Linked DNA regions of Homo sapiens: regions 2, 3 and 4 are each linked to region 1. The links are contacts of gene promoters, found by promoter capture Hi-C in human tissues and cell types (Jung and others, 2019). All regions are on one chromosome and are shown on one strand. Each heading gives the region's core, a stretch centred on a gene start or on the middle of the fragment in contact. The rest is flanking DNA. Distances are from core to core; before and after follow the strand shown.

What was found. The method cuts DNA at HindIII sites, captures the fragments that hold promoters and counts their contacts. A contact is called where the count stands out against the background at its distance.
Region 2: a contact is called between a fragment that was not itself captured here and the fragment with the promoter of POU4F3 in region 1, in 2 of the 25 tissues and cell types used here (H1 embryonic stem cells and liver).
Region 3: a fragment that was not itself captured here is called in contact with the fragment with the promoter of POU4F3 in region 1 in 2 of the 25 tissues and cell types used here (mesendoderm cells and thymus).
Region 4: a fragment that was not itself captured here is called in contact with the fragment with the promoter of POU4F3 in region 1 in 2 of the 25 tissues and cell types used here (H1 embryonic stem cells and thymus).

The regions. Positions count from the first base shown.
Region 1 is chr5:146,337,396-146,341,171 of GRCh38, forward strand. It overlaps POU4F3 (POU class 4 homeobox 3), which reads left to right and starts at 1,444. Exons shown (of 2, transcript NM_002700.3): 1 at 1,444-1,837; 2 at 2,153-3,776. The coding sequence starts at 1,718. The coding sequence ends at 3,049. RBM27-POU4F3 (RBM27-POU4F3 readthrough) reads left to right here. Exons shown (of 20, transcript NM_001414499.1): 19 at 1,708-1,837; 20 at 2,153-3,776. The coding sequence ends at 2,163. RefSeq lists a silencer at 3,228-3,428. The HindIII fragment of the contact is 4,777 bases long and covers 1-3,776 here.
Region 2 is chr5:146,370,554-146,374,308 of GRCh38, forward strand. LOC105378213 (a long non-coding RNA gene) reads right to left here. Exons shown (of 3, transcript XR_001742915.1): 3 at 2,699-2,916. Among named protein-coding and RNA genes, the nearest start is that of POU4F3, 34 kb to the left of the region's middle. The HindIII fragment of the contact is 4,563 bases long and covers 1-3,755 here.
Region 3 is chr5:146,293,436-146,297,241 of GRCh38, forward strand. The region is part of intron 18 of RBM27-POU4F3 (RBM27-POU4F3 readthrough); the gene reads left to right. Among named protein-coding and RNA genes, the nearest start is that of POU4F3, 44 kb to the right of the region's middle. The HindIII fragment of the contact is 6,638 bases long and covers 1-3,806 here.
Region 4 is chr5:146,390,497-146,394,119 of GRCh38, forward strand. No RefSeq gene overlaps it. Among named protein-coding and RNA genes, the nearest start is that of POU4F3, 53 kb to the left of the region's middle. The HindIII fragment of the contact is 5,599 bases long and covers 1-3,623 here.

The DNA of each region.
Region 1 (3,776 bases), core at 194-2,693:
TGAGTCTTTTTCCCACCATCGCAGGGCGGGAACCAGCGGAGGGGGCTGGCTCGGATGGGGAGAAAAGCAACTGGAGGGCGCCGAGGGGAAGAGGGAGCCCGGATCTGTCAGGGCGTCCTCTTGGACTAAGGGATGTTCCCCTAAACCACACCACCCCACCTCGTTCAGATTCTGGGAAACCCGGCACGCACATACCCTGCACAATAACAGGCAGGGTGAGGTCTCTAAGCCCCGAAGATCGCTCTCTCAGCGGAGGCAGTGGCCCTGACGAGGGGGTACAGCTGCACGCGCGGGGTTTCTCTCCGAACCGGAGTGCAGCGTAGTCGAGGTCCAGGATTCCCCATCCATTATTCACGATGTTTACTAGAGCGGGGCAAGGGAGAGGAAAGAAGAGGGAAGTAGAGAGAAAAAGAGGCTAGGGGAGGTGGAGGCGGGCAGTGCTAACCTCGAGAGCCCTCAAGTTCCGAAACTTTGAGAAGGAAGACCAAGAGGCTAAGGCGCCTGGGAAGCAGCAGGCCGTCAGTAAATATTTGTAAGATGGATGGATAACTGGGTGAGTGAGTGAATGGGCTAATCATTAGCCCCTCTGATCCTTGTTTTCCTCATCTGTAAAACGGGATAACATCACCTACTCCATACGGTGGGTATGAGAATCCCATGGGCAAACTCTAAATTGTCTAGCACATATTAGGAACTCTTAAACGGTAGCTGTTGTCACGAGGAATGGGCTTGCAAGCTCTGGCTGCCCAGCAGAAATGCACTGAAGGACTCCCAGGCCTGGAGGGCCATCCTGAACAGTCGCTATTCTAAAAAAAATACTCCACAAGCTTCCTTAGACGGGAGGGTTGGAGGAAGAGTGGGCCAAGTTACATCCCTCAAATGAAAGAAAGAAAGGCAAGCGTGGGGAGGAAGCCACCCCGGACTGAGAAGGCAGTTACTGCCCCTACCTCTACCCCGGAGCGCGGTTGAGGGAGGTGGGGCAGGGGTCACCTGGGCCTCGTTCTGGCAGCCCCTCACCCTCTCCAGGGCCCGTCTGGGCGCTTGGAGGCGCCTCCTCGCTGCGCCGCGGGACCGGACTCTGGTGGACAGCTTGGGCGTGAGGCCAGGAGCGCCCTGGAAATGGGCAGTTTGGCGGCAGCCGGGCCGACGGAGTGTGTGTGTGTGTGTGTGTGTGTGTGTGTGTGTGTGTGTGTGGTGGAGAGGGGAAGTTGGAGTAGGGTCAACTTCCTGCCCCAGCTCAGCCCAGGGCTACCCTTTTATCCAGGCAGTTCGAGCTGGGACAGGACGGAGAGGTTGGGACTTTTGGGGTGGCATGGGGGAAGGGAAGTCCACGAAGAAGAAAGAATCGGAAAGGTCTGGCGGGTTGGAGCCAGCGGGGCGGGGCGGACTGGGAGAGGCCAGGCCAGGCCCGGGTATAAAGGCTGTGGAGGGGGCGGCCGCCGCGGGCGCAGAAAGGCGCGCCGCTAGCTGCTGTCTCTCCTCACCTCCCGGGCCGCCCCTGCGAGTCCCCGGCGCGTGAGCACGCCTGCGCGCGCCCGGGCCCTTCCTGGCAGGCTGCTTGTAAGATGAGTGAAGAAGCAGGTGGGGGAGAGGGGAGGCAGCGAGCGAGAGGGCGAGGGGAGCGCGGGCGCTGAGCAGCGCTCACTTGGAGAGCGGCAAGCAAGCTAGACAAGCCTGATTCCATGTCACCCGCTGCCACCCTGCCAGGAGCGCGAAGATGATGGCCATGAACTCCAAGCAGCCTTTCGGCATGCACCCGGTGCTGCAAGAACCCAAATTCTCCAGTCTGCACTCTGGCTCCGAGGCCATGCGCCGAGTCTGTCTCCCAGCCCCGCAGGTACGTAGTGGAGCATAATTACCGCTCTAAGGCACATTTTTTGACAGGCACTAGCTTCATGTTTTTTTCATGTCGCCCAGAACAATCGCCGCTGTCTGAACCCCTCTCCTTGTCTCCCCCGCGTTCTCTCCCGGCGCGCTCTCTCTCTCATTCATGTCTCTGATCCACACGTCTGTTCCAGCAGAGCCGCTGCCTCCGTATTAATTTTTATGACCTGGGCTTTGAGGAGAGGCATCTCGGTTGCTTGAAAATGTGTTTTAATCCTGTGTTGACAGTATTCCCTACTGACCGTGCTGTGCGCCTTCTCGCTTGCAGCTGCAGGGTAATATATTTGGAAGCTTTGATGAGAGCCTGCTGGCACGCGCCGAAGCTCTGGCGGCGGTGGATATCGTCTCCCACGGCAAGAACCATCCGTTCAAGCCCGACGCCACCTACCATACCATGAGCAGCGTGCCCTGCACGTCCACTTCGTCCACCGTGCCCATCTCCCACCCAGCTGCGCTCACCTCACACCCTCACCACGCCGTGCACCAGGGCCTCGAAGGCGACCTGCTGGAGCACATCTCGCCCACGCTGAGTGTGAGCGGCCTGGGCGCTCCGGAACACTCGGTGATGCCCGCACAGATCCATCCACACCACCTGGGCGCCATGGGCCACCTGCACCAGGCCATGGGCATGAGTCACCCGCACACCGTGGCCCCTCATAGCGCCATGCCTGCATGCCTCAGCGACGTGGAGTCAGACCCGCGCGAGCTGGAAGCCTTCGCCGAGCGCTTCAAGCAGCGGCGCATCAAGCTGGGGGTGACCCAGGCGGACGTGGGCGCGGCTCTGGCTAATCTCAAGATCCCCGGCGTGGGCTCGCTGAGCCAAAGCACCATCTGCAGGTTCGAGTCTCTCACTCTCTCGCACAACAACATGATCGCTCTCAAGCCGGTGCTCCAGGCCTGGTTGGAGGAGGCCGAGGCCGCCTACCGAGAGAAGAACAGCAAGCCAGAGCTCTTCAACGGCAGCGAACGGAAGCGCAAACGCACGTCCATCGCGGCGCCGGAGAAGCGTTCACTCGAGGCCTATTTCGCTATCCAGCCACGTCCTTCATCTGAGAAGATCGCGGCCATCGCTGAGAAACTGGACCTTAAAAAGAACGTGGTGAGAGTCTGGTTCTGCAACCAGAGACAGAAACAGAAACGAATGAAGTATTCGGCTGTCCACTGATTGCGGCAGGGCGCAGCGTCGGGAGCCGGGAGAGCCTAGTGCTCATCCCTCCCGGGTTCGGGGGATGGTTATCGGGAACTCCAAGGCGTTTCCTAGGCAGGTTAGGCTCTCTCCTCCGAAGCCACAGACTTTCCCCCTTTGTCCCGCCTGGTTGCCTCCGGCCTTCTCTCTCTTTCCTTTCTATTCCCACCAAAAAAATTTTGGCGCTGGGAAAATATTGCAGAAGGGCGGGCCTGAGTGTACTTGTGCTGTCCGTGGTGCTGAAATTTGCCCTCGCGCAGGGGCCGCACGACTTCAGAGCAGGAGCCCCAAAGCAGAGGACAGTCAATTGGCCCAACCGCCCGAAGCTAGGGTGAAAATGCCACTTTGCTAAGCGCGATTAGGCAAAGGGTGAAGGGATAAAAAGGAAGTGATCAATAATAACACAAAGTCTAGGATATCTAAGGGGGACACAAACATGCACTGGAGATTTATTAGAGTATATAAAATACATGTATGTTTCCAAAGGATAGCCTTATACTCCCTTCCTTGCCTAAATTCTATTCACCTTATCCTTTGGTTTGGCGTAAATTCTCATAAGGTAGCATGAAGATTAGGTTCAGGGAAAGTATGCAGGGAGTTGCGGGCTCCAAGTTGCCATTTTTTCGTGGTAAGTAGGGCTCCAAAACAGGTGGGCCCAGTCTGGCGACTGAAAATTCTGGGATCGCTTGGCTGTTTGTAATCAGCT
Region 2 (3,755 bases), core at 714-3,213, 34 kb after region 1:
TGGTGAGGAACCAGCAGCTTGCCACTGGAGTACCTGAGGTCCAGAACACACCATCTCAGGGACTATTCGGACTATTCGGACATCAGCCTCCACTGCCACTCCAATTATCTGGACACTGGACCACTGAAATCAGTTGCCAACACTGCTACAAATGCCTCTGAAAGCTGGAGATGAGACATTAGTATCTCCATAATTTTTCTTGCAAAGTGAAAAACAACAAACATAGCAGAAAATTGCCCTTTCTCTCATTTCTACCTCCTGAATCTTGCCCAGATGCTTTTACTTCATGGAATCTATCTCACATCTAGACCCTAGCTGCAAGGAATTCACGAAATGAGCTAGTTTTCTAGCCTTCAGAAAACAGAAAGTTCCCTCAAAGAAGGTGGAAATTGGTGCTAAGTACCAATTGACCATATCCATCCCAGAAAGTCATGATTGTAACTACCTTATAGAATTATTGTGGGGATTAAGTAAGATAATAAAATACATTGAACACTACCTAGCAAGTGGGTAATCAATAAATTAATTATTTCTACCACTACTACTGCAGTGGGATTCAATACTTCATCTTCTAAAAATACACAAAGGCAATCGTGCTTTCTTCACCTGCCAGGCTAATTTTGCTGGGGTGGGAGAATTCTCTACTTGGCTCAGAGGCCTCAGTGGCCTCAATAGCTCCCTTCCTACCTGAGGTCATGCTACAGGTGGCTGTTAAAGCCCTCCTTGTCTATGTGCTAGAGCCTTGGAGAATCCTTCCAGGCCATGCCTCCTCTCCCTCATTCAAAAACCCCTCTCCCTATCCTGAACTCTACAGTTCCCATCCTGTTGCTTCAGGCCCAATTTCTGATTCTTTGCTTGCCCCCTTCCTAGTGACACTTGAGCCAAATGAATTGCTTGGCTTTATCCCAATTTCATCTCTGGCTGGTGTTATTCCCGCCCCATATGCAGCCTAGGCCTTGGAACCCTGCTCTAGGAATGCAGCCTAAGATTCCTAGGACGGGAGATCAGCCAATAAACTACATATAATCAGATATAAAATGAAAGAATGACAAAAAAAGAAACGAAAAAAAATTAACCAGGAGTGGTGGTAGGCACCTGTAGTTCCAGCTACTTGGGAGGCTGAGGCAGGAGGATCGCTTGAACCAGGGAGGTAGAGGTTGCAGTGAGCCGAGATCGTGCCCACTCCAGCCTGCTGGGTGACAGAGTGAGACTCTGTCTCAAAAAAAAAAAACAAAAAAAAAAAACGAAAAGTCCCCAGAACTCCAAGATAAAGCTCTAGCAAACCCAGTTGGTCCAAGGTAAACACATGTGGGAAATGGAGAAAACGGATTTTCAACACCTTTCCACCCCCATTTTGTTGTTGTTCTTTAGTGTTTCCCAATTACATGTTGAGCTTGGGAGTTGCCCTTTTACTCAGAATCTTAATAGACATTCTCAACAAAGCTTAGTTATTCTATATTTCAATTGTTTTCAAGATCTTATAAAGTGATAGAATGCTCAGTTAGTTCAGGAGTTCTCAAGCCTGCCTGTGCCTTAGCTCAGCTCAGTTGAATCAGAATCTCAAGGGGGCAGGTGAGGTCTGGCAGTAATATTTTCAAAAGCTGTTGAGGAAGAATAGTTACAACGTGTGGGGTACATTGTAGAGTCAAGAACCATAGAGTTAACTAATCTGACAACCTAAGTAGGGTTGACGTATTAATGTGGGCAAATAACTTTTTTTAAAAAATTAATTTTTTTTTTTTTTTTTTTGAGACGGAGTCTCGTTCTGTCACCCAGGCTGGAGTGCAGTGGCACGATCTAGGCTCACTGCAAGCTCCGCCTCCCAGGTTCAGGCCATTCTCCTGCCTCACCCTCCCGAGTAGCTGGGACTACAGGCACCCGCGACCACGCCTGGCTAATTTTTTGTAATTTTTAGTAGAGACGGGGTTTCACCGTGTTAGCCAGGATGGTCTGCATCTCTTGACCTCGTGATCCGCTTGCCTCGGCCTCCCAAAGTGCCGGATTATAGGCGTGAGCCACTGCGTCCGGCCTTAATGTGTGCAAATGTCTTAATATACTGCTCCTACTAGGACAGTTGTATTTCTCTTTCAGGACTGTCTGCAGACAGTACCATAAGTCAAAAAGTAAATTAATTATGGCATCTCCAGGCCCCATGGCAGTATAAAGCAATAGGTAAAGTTTTGGGGTGGGACAATATTTTAATATCCCTTGGGTAATATCATTTAAGCAGGTCACTTTTCCACATATGCAGAGAAGCAGTCTTGGAGGTTAATAGTTACTTATTGATAAAAAATATTTTATTCTGTAAAATGAAATTACACTTCATTCTTCTGTGTAATCCTGAGCAAGTTACTTAACCTCTCTTAGTTCCCATTTCTTTCTTTATTTAATATGAAGAATAATAGTAGTGACCTCAGAGAGTTGTACTATGAAAATTATATGTAAAGTACCTGGCACCTTAGAAGTGAAAAATAAATTTGACCTATTACTGGATGATCATTTATTTATTGGCACTGTGTTCAGAAGCCATTTGAAAACTAGGTGATGTGAGCAGGTAAATAAATTGGATCTTCTCATGTCTGTGATCAATGGAAGAAATTAAAGTGTTCCCTTCCAGGAACCCCTGGAGTACTACTCAGCATGGAATAACCTTAAAGGAAATTTCCAATAAGGATGACAAGTTTAGGATTACTTACTGGGTTTGTATATCCAAGTCGAACTGCCCTGCTTGGAAGTTGCAGAGTCAATGGAATAGGTAACATGTTCCGAGTTATTTGCTCCACCACTTTTCACATGAACAAGATTGCCAAGGTTTGTTATATGAATAAGGCCAACATAGATGCAGAAAGGTGAGGGGTGATGGGAAATCCAAGATGTTCTAAATGCCATACATTCGCCATGGCACGAATGGCAATCCTGAAAATTTAGAAACAGCTCACATACAAAAATACCAGGTAGACTATGAAGTGTTTGCTCATTGATTTCATGAGCTATAATGAGCACTTACTGTATGCTGGGCACTGAGGTAGTGCTATGAAGAAAAAGGTAAGACATAGACCCAGCCCTCAAGAGGACAGGGACCCCTGGGAGACTGACCAAAAAAGAGATAATTATTTTTATTTATTTTGAGACAGGGTCTTGCTCTGTCTCTCAGGGTAGAGTGCAGTGGCATGATCACAGCTCATTGCAGCCTTGACCTCCCGGGCTCAATCCTCCCACCTCAGCCTCCTGAGCAGCTGGACTACAGGCACACACCACCATGCCCAGTTAATTTTTGTATTTTTTTTGTAGGGGCAGGGTTTTGCCATGTTTCCATGTTGCTCAGGAGATAATTATTAAACAATGAAGTTGAAAGTAATAGTTTCAGGCAGGGCGTGGTGGCTCACGCCTGTAATCCCAATACTTAGGGAGGCTGAGGTGGGTAGATCACTTGAGGCCAGGAGTTCAAGACCAGTTTGGCCAACATGGTGAAACCCCGTCTCTACAAAAAATACAGAAATTATCTGGGCACGGTGGCACATGTCTGTAATCCCAGTTATTCAGGAGGTTGAGGCATGAGAAATACTTGAACCCAGGAGGTGGAGGGTGCAGTGAGCTGAGATAGGGCCACTGCACTCCAGCCTGGGTGATAGAGTGAGACTCTGTCTCAAAAGAAAAAAAAAGTGATGGTTTTAGGATGATTTTATAATATTGAAAGAATAAGAAGACATTGAATTAAAATGTAGGATACAAGGTGGTATATAGAGTGTAATTCT
Region 3 (3,806 bases), core at 1,069-3,568, 43 kb before region 1:
GCTCCATCTATCTCATCTGCCTTGGATTGGAACCAGACTCCCTTGGGGAGCAACACTGTGTTTTTAGGTAGCATATTGGAAACCACAGAGAACAGTTTATTTATGTTAATTTGTGGGGGAACATTTTAAAGTAGTAATTTTCTGTGACCTCCACAATGTACAGCCAGCCAATTTGATACATTTCACAGTAATTTGGCTATATCATAACCTGTGTTATTTTGTTTTCAATTTTATCTTAAATGTTTTTTTCCCTGTGACAAATTGAATTATGATAATCTTGCAGTATTTCTACCTTGCTTCTTTGTGTTTTTCAATATTTCTCGTGCCTTTTTCCTTTTAACTTTGGCATTAAAAAAATCACGTACATAAATAAGTTTACATGCTTTAATGATGTTTTCATATAGAACACTGAATTTTCTAGACAAAAAGTGCTGAGAATAGCAGTGTTCATTTATAGTTATGTTTATGCCATATTTTTAAAAAGTATATTCTCAGTGAATAAAACTGATGTTCATGTCATTGTTCTGTTTGGGGAGTTGATTTTTTTTACATGTTCAGATTTCTTAGATCATTCCAAATCTTTGTGGATTTCTAATTTTTGCTATTTGGAGAACTTCAAAATGTTTATTGACTTGTAGTTGTTACGGTAATAGTTATCTGAAAAAAGAAAAAGATGTAAGCGGCCTTGAAGAAGAGGGGACTTTTTATTCTTTGACAGCCCATGAGAAAACTAGCCATGTTCTAAGAGATTGAATGAAAAAGTTTTTTATTCTTGACAAATTTTGTAGCATTAGGGAATATTTCCAATATGAAAATTGTATCAGGGAAATTGCTGAGACAAAAGAGAATGATTATAACATCCTGGCCACACAGCACATGTTTTAAGAAAGGTATTTCACCCTAAAAATAAAATCGGATTATGTCGTGTGCTTTTTTTTCCTCTGTGAAGATTCCAGAAGTATGTCGTGTGTTTTTTAAAAATTTTACTGTGATCGAATGCTAAAAAAAAAAATGCATGTTATTAAAGAGTTTTTCAGCATATTTTGCTTTGAAATGTTAAATATAGGGAAGGAAGAATTTTATATTTTATACGTAGAAACTTAATTTCTTAGAATTATAACTTTATTTTTTGAAAATTTTCTACCAATAACTTTAAAGCACTTTTCTCCCTGATTTATTTAAATCCTAATAAATTATACATTTCTGCACTTTAGCCATTCATGTGGAAATTATTTGGAGTCATCTCAATAGAATGGTGCTGTGTGGTCTCCCAAGGCCCCCAAGAATGTCAAAGAAGTTTCATCTACTCTTTGTTTTAAATTTTCAAGTGAATATTATTGATAAATTAGATGAAGCTGAAGAAAAGTCTAGAGATTGAAGTAAATTATTAAAATCTACTTAAGAGTGAGGACTTACATAAGAACTCTTTATGGAAAGCTGTACTGAGATCCTAGTATTTTTGGAAAGCTATTTGTGAGTTATAGACACCTGTCAATTTCTCAGAAATGGTCTTATCTGGAAAAAGAAAAGTAGAACCTAACTGGTACATTCAGACGTGTTCAGAGAACTTTCAATATTGTAAAAACAACATAGCATATTTTGCCTCGTCTGTTTTACAACCATGGAGGATTGCCTTTTTATTCATTTTGAGGTTTTGATTATCATCACTGGCAGTTTTATGCTTCATAGACTTAGGGTAGCAGAAGTGGTAACAGTAGATGGCTTCACTTGTCTTTCTTTCAGCATGGCCTGCATGAATCAGAATCCAAAGAAAACCAGCACACTTAAAATAGAAAAATTGCACTTTGGGAAGCTGAGGCAGGAGGATCACTTGAGCCCAGGAGTTTGAGACCAGCCTGTGCAACACGGTGGAACCCCATCTCTGCTAGAAATACAAAAATTAGCTGGGTGTGGTGGCGGGCATCTGTAATCCCAGCTACTTGGGAGGCTGAGGCAGGAGAATCACTTGAACCCAGGAGGCGGAGGTTGCAGTGAGCCAAGATCATGACACTGCACTCCAGCCTGGGGGACTGAGCGAGACTCCATCTCAAAAAAAGAAAAGAAAAAAAAAAAAAAAGGAAAGAAAAGAAAGAAAAAAAAGAGAAAAAGAGGAAAGGAAGGAAGGAAAGAGAGAGTACAATGAATTTTGATTGGTCGGGTCATCCTTTACCATTCTTGCCCAGAAACATGGATTTTTGTATGTGTGTGTGCCATAAATAAGAAATTAAGAAAACAGATGAGACGGTAAAATATTCCGCACACAGAAGCACTTTAATGACTGTCGAGTAAACGACTTAAATGAAGAACCAGGAGAGAGAACGAAGAACAAGCTATCTCTCTGCCTTTTATTTGGTTAATTTTCATTTCATTTCACCACAACTTTAATGGTGCTAAGAAGAAATTGTTGAAAATTTAGAAAAGGAATTGTGGAAGTTACTACATCACAATATACTTGCTTTTTTTTAAAAAAAATAAAATTAAGCCTTGGTTTCTTTAAGCATGGTTTCATTTTCATTCAGTGCTTTTTTTTTTTTTCCCTCCATGCAGTACTTTTATGTCCGCACTCTTTTTTGTTTGTTTTTTGAGAGAGTCTCACCCTGTTTCCCAGGCTGGAGTGCAGTGGCACAGTCTTGGCTCACTGCAACCTCTGCCTCCCGAGTTCAAGTGATTCTTGTGCCTCAGCCACCCAGCAGCAGGATTACAGGTTTGTGCTACCATACTTGGCTAATTTTTTTATTTTTTGTAGAGACGGGGTGTCACCATGTTGGCCAGGCTGGTCTCGAAATCCTGACCTCAAGTGATCCACCCGCTTTGGCCTCCCAAAGTGTTGGGATTACAGGTATAAGCCACCCCGCGCAGCCAATGTTAGTATTCTTGACCTGAGAGAGGGATGGCAAGCAGAACTCAGGGCCCGCAGAGCTGATGCAGGTAGCTCATCTCCCACACCTTGGGCATTTCTCAGCCATAAAATGGTCCGTAGAGCCTTATGATCAAAATAAGATTGTTTACCATGTCATTGCTCATTATGTGACTCACTGTGCTGTTTCTTAAACATTATTAAGTTTCTTAAACATTATTATTTAACTCTGAGGTATACTATTATTTTTCCTTTTTTGTGCAAGAGGAAACTCGGGCATAGAGCAGTTGTGTCACCGATAGTCTCAAAGCAAAGCCAACAATTAAAACCACGTTATGCCTGACATCAAAGTGGGGCTTTTAACCATTGCTTGATACTGTGCTCACATCTCAATTCTTGCTACTTGTGAGTAGGGATTAGTCTTTTTTGTTTTGTTTGTCTTTTTTTTTTTCGTTTATTTGGAGACAAGGTCTCTCTCTGTCATCCAAGCTGCCTGGTGGGAGTGCAGTGGTGCTATCACGGCTCATTGTAGCCTCAACTTCCTTGCTCAAGTGATCCTCCTACCTCAGCCTCCCAAAGCACTAAGGTTACAGGTGTAGTCACTGCACCTGACCTTCTTAGTCTTTAGAAGACTCAGTTTACTCATATAAAATGAACATTATAATATTAGTACCCATTTAATGTTCACAGGGTTGCAATGAACATTAAATGGGAGTTCACTGAAGGTATTTTGTGAAATGTACATCACTATTAGCAGATCTAAGCTTCATCAGATTGTCTCGAATTATTTTCAACTGCAATTGAATTTTCTACCTTGGTTATTAAATCTTGTGGGATCACCTAAATAAATGTGTAAGCAATGTTGAAGAAAAGAGAAAGGTATACTGCATACCTGAGTTGGCACCTCTATATTTCTATAGTACTGTACACCATGATAATCAACTAGATA
Region 4 (3,623 bases), core at 731-3,230, 54 kb after region 1:
ATATAATTTTCCCAAGCCTCTAGAATGAATAGGATTTCTCATCTTTGACACTACTGACCTCTGGGCTGCATAACTCTTTGACATAGGAGGCTGTTCTGTGCATTGTAGGATGTTTAGCAGCATCCATGACCTCTAACCACTAGCTGCCAGTAGCACACCGCCTCCTAGTTGTGACAACCAAAACTGTCTCCAGACATTGCCCCATGTCCCCTGGGGGGCGCAAATAGTCCCCAGTTGAGAACAACTTTTCTAAAAGAGTGTCTGCCACTAGCAGACATTCAATAATTATTTGTTGAAGGAATGAAAAAAGAATGAGCAATTTTTAGGTACCTTTATTCTTCATGTATTCCCCCAGCATTCATCACTTACCACAGTCATCACCAGGAGCAGCTCTCAATCTAAAGAAGTGAAAGGCTAAATCTCAGGCATTCGTAGGATACAATGGCTCTCTCTATTATTGTTTTGTGAAAGACAACATGTAGGGGAGAAAGATATGATGGGAAGGGTAGTAAAATAAAATCAGGATAAAGACACTCTGAGAGGCATGCCACCTAGCAAGGTATTGCTTATGAGAATTGTGTGGATTTGCTCAATAAGATTTGTAGACCTTGAGACAATAAGCTTTCTTTCACACTGCTTCCTTTCTGTTTTACAGCCATTGTTCTTCCCCAACACACCTATGGATCAGTTTGAGGTTTCAACATTTGTTTATCTCCAAAGATAGTTGTAATAAAAATAACATTAATAATAAGAATGGTGTTTGTTGAACACTTACTGTGTCAGGCCCTAGGCAGTATCATTTAACTCATAACAACCTTTTGGGGCAGTTCCTACTGTTAGCACCCGTTCTACATATGAAGAAACGAAGGCTCAGAAAGGTTAAGTAATTTGTTCAAGGGAGCACAGCTAGTAAATGTCCAAGGCAGCACAGCTAGGATTGAGAATGAGCTAGAATGACATAGTAATGAGTATATAATATATATAATATTACTCATATATAACAGGTATAGCATAAGTAATATAGTGACAATCACAAGACTTGTGCAGAAGCCAGTCTCATTAATTAATAGCCACGTATGCCATCTGAGGCTATCACTTCTTTTCCACGGTCAGAAAATACATAGCACATTATTATAAAGACAATAATAATGGAAGACTTTTGCTGGTTCTTTGATTTGAATGCTCTTTTTTATTTTTAAACAAAAAGTACTCTATAGGAAAGAATGAAGCCATTAGTGCTGTTCAGTGAAAAGACTTAGTGGACTTTAGCATGATTTCACACATAAGGAAAGGCTGTCACTGCCAAAGAGTATTTTTCCTAAAGAATGTTTCCAGGGCCCAAGAGTCCTTTAAGCTAAAGTACTTATTTGTTGATTCATTGTTTTTTATGCTGAAAGGTACATCAGATACATGGTACAAAATGCAGAAGAAAGGAAATGATCTAGAGTGAAGAATAAGTGTCCCCTCCTCTGCTGCCTCCCAGCAACCCAGCTCCTCTTTCTAGAGGCAATTCTTGTCTCCAGTTCCACATGAGTCCTCGCAGGCCAGTGCTTAAAGAAGCATATAGAGGACTTCAGGGCTTCATCTGTAGAAAGCTTCCCTGTTTCCAGAGCATGTCCACATGCATTTTCTCATCTGAACTTCTCAGCAAACACCCCAAATGCATGAAAGAAATTTGTTGATAAACTCCATGCTTGTCCCCTTCATGTGATTCATCCAGGGTCCTAAGATGAGGACTGGCATTTAACCTCTGGAAAGTACGTGGAGCCCCTATTTTCATTCTCAATTGCATTGTTTAACAAGGTCTGACCTTTCTCTTGCAAGTTGCTGCAATCTCTTCACCCTTTTGCAAAAATCTGATCACAAAATGCCCCATGGGCATTAAGTCATAAAATCCAAATAAAATGGGTAAGACTTGACGATGTCGGCTTAAAAAAAAAAAAGTAGTGATCGTTGAATTTCCTTTCACATGCATGTTTCTCCCCTCCTTTGCTGGGCTCAGATGCCAGCTGTACGTTGCCATGGTCTGAAGAAGGACCTGTGGGTCTCCCCTGGCAGATGCTGCCACTGTTTTAGCCTGAGGGCCCTGCAGGCAGCCCCTGGCAACATTTTTAATTCAACATCAAACTGCAACTTGAAATTTGAAAAAGTGGGGGAAAAATGACAAGATGTCAATGTCTCAGAACCTAGCAAGTGGGGCTTGTAAATATACCCGATTTGGATTTCTTTGAGCTGGGGGAAGTTTCTCATTTTTTGTAGCCACTGGGAGTGACTGAACCCCATCAAAGAGACCTTAAAGGATGCTGAAAGAGCTCAAAGGGGATGCTATGTCTCAAGAAGAGAGCTCCAGACCTGGTCAGAGAGCCTTTTAAATAAGTCAGGTGGCAAGCTGGCCAGGACACATTCTTAAGTCAAAAAGGCAGATTGTAAAACAATAAAGGTCCCATCTTTTGGGGGAAAAAATATGTGTGTGAATGCACACCAAGAAGTTTGGAAGGCAATACTCTGTAATATTTAAAATCTCTTCTTATATCTTTATTGTCTGAACTTTTTGTTTACAAAGATCCTATATATTACTTTTAGAACGAGAAAAAAATACGGTTTGTATAAAATTTGAAAATAAAAAAGATAACAAAGCTGAGTTCCTATTCCCTCAGTACCCACAGGCTCCTGGAACAGAACGTAGCAAGTCCACCATTGCCCAGGCAGCTTGGCTGAGTGCTTAAATCTCCAGATACAGTTCCAGGGGCTTGTTCATCCAAAAAGGTACCTGGCACAACGTGAGCAGCAGTTCTGCCACAGCTCCCAACTTCCATCTGAGTAGAACTTCACAGCTACCCTTGCTTTCATCATTTCCTTTCACACCCACAGCACGTCTGGAAAGTATATGGAGCCACTCTTTTTAGTCTCAACTTGCAGATAAAGAAACTGGGTGTCAGAGAAATTTAAGAGGAAAGCAGTGCATTTGAATGGAAACCTTGTCTTCTTGAAGTCTACAGCGTTTACTGCCACATGCTTTAAGATGTGTATGCATTGGGGAACGATCTTGTGGATTCCTGACCATACACTGCTCATTCGGGTGGTGGTGAAAAAACTTTTCTCTAGAACCAGAAATGTAAACTTGGGACTCATTCAGGGCTGATGCATCTCAAGGTAATACTACATTATCACCCCTGAGAGTGACATTGCCAGATAAAGGCCTTGCTGTTCACTGAATGGTGCCATCTTACCTGGCCACCAAAGTTGATTTTGCAGGATTTTAAGGGGCTGAAATTCTGGCAGGGTCTGTTTCTTGTTCACCAACCTAGCTCTGGTGCCTAGCACAGTGCTTGAAGCATTGTGACTCTCTTTTTTGATGAACAAATGAGTTTGGATCAGAGGTTTAGGAGAGGGAGCATCTTCCTTCTCTTCTCTAAGCTCTGAGTCTGGTTCTCCCTATGGCTCACTTTTGATCCTCTCTGCTCATCTTCTACCACTGACAAAACCTGTCTGCTGATTAGAACTTTGACTCAGAAATAAGTGGAATGGATAATAGAGGTGAGGATTTGGGAGGAGTAGAAAAAAAAAAAGCATTCTAAGAAGAGAGTGGTGGGTAGTAAAATCTTATATATATATAAAAGAGC